2 separate regions of the Homo sapiens genome follow, and region 2 is linked to region 1. Evidence: promoter capture Hi-C in human tissues and cell types (Jung and others, 2019). All regions are on one chromosome and are shown on one strand. The core of a region is centred on a gene start or on the middle of the fragment in contact, and the rest is flanking DNA. Distances in the headings are between cores, read along the strand shown.

Region 1 (3,090 bases), core at 358-2,857:
TCTACTTCAGTTTCGGTTCAGGAAAACCCATTCTATAGTTCCCATTGACTACCTTTGGGTACTCATACACTGTATTAAACATCAGATAATTCTAACATTCATTCAGAACTGGAATGCCCGCTCTATGCTGGATTCTGTTAGTTGCTGAGGATACAATAGTGACCAAAAATGCAATTTCCTTATGCATCCTTTACCTCTTCTGTTCTGCAACCAACATTTGTATGAGCCCAAAATTCCCTTGTAAGATATAAAAAAAAAGACTTAAGTTCAATGTTTCATTTCACTCCGTTTTTATCCTGTTTTCAGTTTATGTAATAAGAACGGGCAAACAGCTGAAGATCTCGCTTGGTCATGTGGATTTCCAGACTGTGCCAAGTTTCTTACAACAATTAAATGTATGCAGACAATAAAAGCAAGTGAACACCCTGACAGGAATGATTGTGTTGCCGTGCTCAGACAGAAACGGAGTCTCGGAAGTGTAGAAAATACCAGTGGGAAAAGGAAGTGCTGGTAAGTAACTCAGAGCTGCTGCTTTTTTCCTCCCGCAGTGATCTCTTGTTTGCATAGCATTTATTATTCCATTTAATACTGACACTCGTATTTCTAGTAGTATTGTTTCATTCTCATTAACATTTTAGTACTGGTTATACTTACCAGAGTCTAGAGACCAAAAATGGGACTGCATGGTGGAAGTTTGGGGATAAAACTCTTTTTAAAAAAAAGTTTTTAATGTTAACGTGTTTTTAAAAACAGATGTCACGTGGGTTATGAAGAAGTCTGAAGAACGCCTTCATTTCATGCAAATCTATAAGCTCCTGCTTTTGGCTTTACCATATGTTGTGTCTAATCTCCTTCTGAGAAGGACGAAAAACTTTCTTCCAAGTGAAGATCCATTTAAGAACACATGTATTTACATGCCTATAATATGCTGGTTGTGTATGCTTTGTCTTTTAAGTTATTAAAGGAACGTCTAAAAAATACATTCTCCGTGCAGTATTTACAACCTTTGAAAAAGGTCATAATTTAAATCGTCAAACTAGAACCAGGATTTAATGTGAAAAATTAAACTGATTCTTTATTCACAAATTTATAATACCACTCTACTGCAGTCTTTGACTCCAAGATATTTTAAATCATATTTGGTCGCTGAGGAAGACATAAGTTATAGTATGCATCCTTGTTCCAAAAATCTGGGCCCTTCCATCCGCACCAGCCCTGGATAGAGAAGACGGGAAAGGAAAGCCTTTTACAAAGTTACAAGATTATGTCATGGAAATCGTGACATCAGGCTCTGTCAGCAGGACCTTGGAATAAGACTCTAAATGGCTTTATCATTCAAGGATTTGAATTCCTACTAGCATAGAAAAGTAACGTATCTTACCCTTTAAGGTAGGTTTTTGAACTTTTAATTCTATGTATGTAATTCATCATAAAAATCATTAAAAAAAATTTACCTGTAACTGTTATTCCAGATACCACACTTTACTGATTCTGAGATGTATAGTTTTACCACTTGCAACTGATAGCATGTGACAATTGAACTAGCAATCTGTTTTTCTTAATAGTCCATAAAGGACTGTAAGAGACCATTCAGTGGCATCTTAGGATTGAAGTACTGTAGTGAGAAACCTCAGCTTGCCCCCTGCCTGGCACTCTGTGCCCTTTCATTTTCAAATTCCAGGTGTTACTCAATTCTACTTCCCATGTTTCATGTCAGTATTAATCCTTTTTGCCAGCAGAGAAAATTACTTTCAAGCAAAATCTCATTTAGAGTATGAAAATTTCTCAGATTTCTCCTAGGGCCACTGAGTTATTTTATTAAAGAAGAAAACTTAAAAGCCAATAACTGGTCTGTATTATATGATTCTTAAATGCTTTGAGAAATCCTTGCAAGGAGGCTGAGACTCTGAAAATACCATGAAGTGAGTGACAAGCAGCGGTCTGACTCCCTCCTAATAAGATACACGTTGTCAAAAAACAAGATAAAAGTAAAAAATCCTCTACCAGTCCTAGGTAATCCCCCACTCTCCCTAGGTAACCAGCATTCTATTAATCATCTCATTTTTTCAGCAAAACTTTCTCTATTAATTTAATGTCCTAAAATCTGTTCTCTTAACAGACAGAGAAAAAAGGCTCATTCTGTTTTAACCTTTTTTTGATCCTTTTACACATGAAGGCCTTGTCCAGGTAACCAGATCCAGATTTTTTAAAGGAGAAATTGGTAGAGAGGGTGTCAGAATGGGATTGCATAGGGACATAGTGCATAGGACATGCTTCTTTCCTGTGAGATGACCAGCATGGGAACTTCAAACAGGAAAGCACCACAAGAAGGCAAAGAGGTCAGGCAGAGATGGAACTCTCCTCTGGCCTCCTGGGTTCCTGGAGTCAAGTGAATCAATAGTTTTAATGGCAGGACCTTGGCTGCACAGTTTCTTGTGTATACAAATAGAGCAAGGAGGTTTCTGCTGTTGAAAAGTTCTATAGAAATAGAACTAGCAAAGATGGAGATTGCAATTCTCAGAGAAAGAAATCAGGGACAATCCCTTACTCTAATTGTTCAGAAACCTTACCTAGATAATGCCATGTAGTGCAGAGCCCCTTGAGTCAACCAGAAAAGAGAAATTTGATGATGAAAATAATTAAGGCTTCTCCCTGCCTTTAAGAAAAAATCGAAATGCCTGGTTCACAAAGACCACCCTTTCTGACTGAGCTTGGTGTGTCCTTCCAGCCTCACCTCTTCGCCTAGCTCTGGACGCACTGATCTACCTGCAGTGCGGCTTTCACTGTTTCTACAAGGCAGGGGCCACCACAGCACCAGCCTCGTAGAAGCACCTGAGATACCATTTTTTTTTTCTCGAGAGTCCTTTTTGCACTCTCCTTCTCTGTCCTACCCTAAAGGTTTTAGCTCCCGAAAAACCTCGTGTAATACTAGTGCTTAGGACAGTGCCTGGCACTTGTTAGGTACTTTAATAAATACTGAATGGAATGAACACCTTGCTACAGAACAAGAATATTGCTACTATATTCAGTAAGATACATGCACCAGTCAAAAAACCTTTTATAGACTTCAAATTCCAAATGCTGTGAAAG
Region 2 (3,136 bases), core at 518-3,017, 130 kb after region 1:
TTTATAATGTCAACAACTCAAAATTTCAAGCATATGATTAATTATATTGACATACGATTATACTATAATAGCAAAATATTTCTTTTATAAACACCTTAAAAGTTTTCGTGACAAAATTATTTTGGTTAGAATTTAATATAAATATGATTTATTCTGTGTTAGGATTCAAAAGCTTATTCAATTTAAATAAAAACCATACTCCAGAAACTAAAACATTTCTTAGTAGATATAACGGAAACTGTTTTTGTTGGTAAATCTATAATAGGAATTGCTTGGCCCAGGTCACTGAAGCATTTTCTGCTTACTTTACTTAGGAACGTTTTTGGGGGTATGTTGAACAGTTTTCATGTTTCATATAAAAACACGTCAGATGTGTTTATATGTTTTTGAAAAATGTAAAACAAGGCTTGAAACGTTCCATTGTATGCGTCTGTAGGATACACATTTTGACATATTTTTAAAAGGATGTTGGTTCCCAAATCTCATAGGCATATATAAATAAAACAGAATTTAAAAGGTATTACCTTGTTCAAAATCTGTATGAGCAGATCAATCAGATTATAACACATACAATTATAAAATATGGCATGAGAAGAATACAAGAAAATAAAGTATAATACTCTGCAACTAAAAGTATAATATTCTGGAAGTTTACGCCTTTAGGTATTAAATGTTTTATATGTGATAACTGAAATAATACATTAATTTTCTATGAAGAAAAACATTGTGTTAGAAAAAAACCAGCTAGACCAAATAATGCTTTAGAATTAATTCTACAAATTTACTGACAGGAGAGAAACCCTGAGGTTTTATTTTTACCTTGTTTTCTCATTAGACAGTAGAGAACACCAAGTAAAGCTTGACTTTGACATTAAAGCATTATTTTCCGTTTTAGGCTGAGTGGTTTACTTTGCATCAGGTAAACTAAACTGTCTGCCACGTTTTCTTTGTAGCTAGAGTTAGAAGTTGGTAATTCCTAAGCCAAGTTCTCAGCTTTGGAAAACGTGCTCAAAATGCCTGGAAACTGAGGAGTGAGCATTAGGAAGACTTCCCCTGTCTGGGCTGATAGGAGCGGCTCCAGTTTGGCCAACGCAGGTCGTGCCCCGCGAACAGCGCGCTGCTGAACTTTTCATCCGGACGAGAAAAACGCTCAGATGCGCGCCAGCTCCAGGGAATGCCGGGGGGTGCCAGTCCCTCGCCTCTCCCACCCGGGACCCATCATTTGTTACGGAAGGGCGATGGGGTGTGTTTTATTTCTGTTATCACATATAAAACATTTAAAACCTAAAGGGGAGGAGGCACTCGAGCCTGGCAGCCTCGCCTTCCCTGAGCCCAGTGGCTCTCCTCGGAAAGTCGCTGCGGACCCAGAGGATGGGACACCTTTAGAGCGGACTTTGTCAAATCTCTGAGCCGCTCCGCAGCCACTTGACGGAGTTGCCGCCGCCCCCGGAGCTGGGCGCCGAAGCCCGGGAGCCAGCAGCGCCCCGTCCGCCCGCCCTCGCGCGCTTTCTGGCCGCCCTCGGCCCCGGGGCATCCACTGCGTCCCCCCGGACGCCGCCGGAGTCCCCACCTCGCAGCAAAAGCAAGAATGCCGACACCTACCCTGGTGATGACCAAAGGCTGGTTGAAGTCTATGCCCCCTGAGAGCCTGAAGCCCCAGGGCGCAGGGCCCGGGAGGATCACCGTCTGGGGCATGCCGCCTTCCTCCCGCCCACCGGGCTCTAAGTGTCCCCGCGCAGGGCAGCCACTCCGCGCCGGGCGGCGTCCTGGCCCCGACCCGGGCGGGGGCGCTTTATCCCCGCTGGGGGTGACGTCACCGCCCCGCCGTCCTCCCCGCCCCCTCCCACCCCGGAGAGCTCCAACTTTGGAAGCGAGAGCCGCGCCAGCCCCGCGGGAGTGCGCAGCCCGGCCGGCTGGGGCAGCCTCCCGGGCCGCGGCGGGCGCGGGGGCTTCGGGTTACAGCGTCCGTCGCTCTCTTGAAGTCACACCTGTCTCCCTGTTTATCTTCTGCTTGGAGCGCAGCAGTGCACTTTGTTGGAAGCGAAAGCAGCCAGACCACAGCCTCCATGCTTTCAATTAAAACGAGCATCATCGATACAATAAGTTATTTAGCAGTTTCGAGTGCGTTAATATTTACTTACGACCTCTGCGGCTTTGGCCAAATTACTTAATGTCCTTTTAAATTTTTATTTTATTTATTTATTTTTCTTAGAGACCGGGTCTCCACTTTGTTGCCCAGGCTAGTCTTGAACTCCTGGGCTCAAACAATCTTCCCACCTCAGCCTCCCAAAGTGCAGGAGAGTCTGGCCGGGGTCCTGTGGTAGTCTCAGTGTGGACTCAAGTATTTCTGGTGTTACGCGTTGGGATGTTGTGATTCCCAAAGGGAGAGGGGAGAATGAGGGAAGAGAAATAAGAAATGCTTTAAACACTCAAGAATAAGGGTCTTGGACTTAATGCCCCATATGATAGGGTCGTATTGGTCCAGGAGGACAGAGCTGCAGCAGACTTTTAAGAGGGCAGTCTGTTTGGAAGCAGTTTTAAGACTGATGGAGGAAAGAGAAAGGAGATGCAGAAAGCAGTAAGCAGTAAGCAGTAAGCAAAGCGAACCAGCCTGGGCAAATGTAAATCACAAAGGTAGGATGGGCATTACTTTGTCCGCTGTGGTGGATTACATAAAAGTCCCAGGGGATAAGCACTTTCTAGCTCCACACATTTCCCAGTGCCCCATCTATGCTGGACCATCGAGGAGCTGAACATTGTGTGTCCTGCTGACTGCCTGTTTGGGCTGTGGCTGTATCACTGCAGAGCACATTTCTTCAGTCAGCTGCTGGCTCTGTCTGCGTGGTGCAGACATACACGTGCACACACACAGAGGTCCATTCAGAAAAAAAAAATCAGACAAGTCATTTGGTGTTGTGTAATTATAGTAATTGTTTTTACCTTACTTCACGAGCTGGCTTATATAAACAGCTGATTTTTTCTTTGCCTTTTTGCTGGTCATTTTGGCATCATTTAGATGTAGCCAATATCTATACAATATCCACATAATATCTGATGAGTTCTTTCTTTTTGTTTTTTTTTTTTTTTTTTGGAGACAGAGTCTTAATCTGTCACCCAGGCTTGATGAGTTCCTAAG

What was found. The method cuts DNA at HindIII sites, captures the fragments that hold promoters and counts their contacts. A contact is called where the count stands out against the background at its distance.
Region 2: a contact is called between the fragment with the promoter of PDLIM3 here and a fragment that was not itself captured in region 1, in 2 of the 25 tissues and cell types used here (liver and pancreas).

What each region holds. Positions count from the first base shown.
Region 1 is chr4:185,399,264-185,402,353 of GRCh38, forward strand. It overlaps ANKRD37 (ankyrin repeat domain 37), which reads left to right. Exons shown (of 5, transcript NM_181726.4): 4 at 307-510; 5 at 754-978. The coding sequence ends at 754. It overlaps UFSP2 (UFM1 specific peptidase 2), which reads right to left. Exons shown (of 12, transcript NM_018359.5): 12 at 274-1,215. The coding sequence ends at 1,129. Among named protein-coding and RNA genes, the nearest start is that of ANKRD37, 4.0 kb to the left of the region's middle. The HindIII fragment of the contact is 6,421 bases long and covers 1-3,090 here.
Region 2 is chr4:185,533,740-185,536,875 of GRCh38, forward strand. It overlaps PDLIM3 (PDZ and LIM domain 3), which reads right to left and starts at 1,768. Exons shown (of 8, transcript NM_014476.6): 1 at 1,603-1,768. The coding sequence starts at 1,695. The HindIII fragment of the contact is 14,334 bases long and covers 516-3,136 here.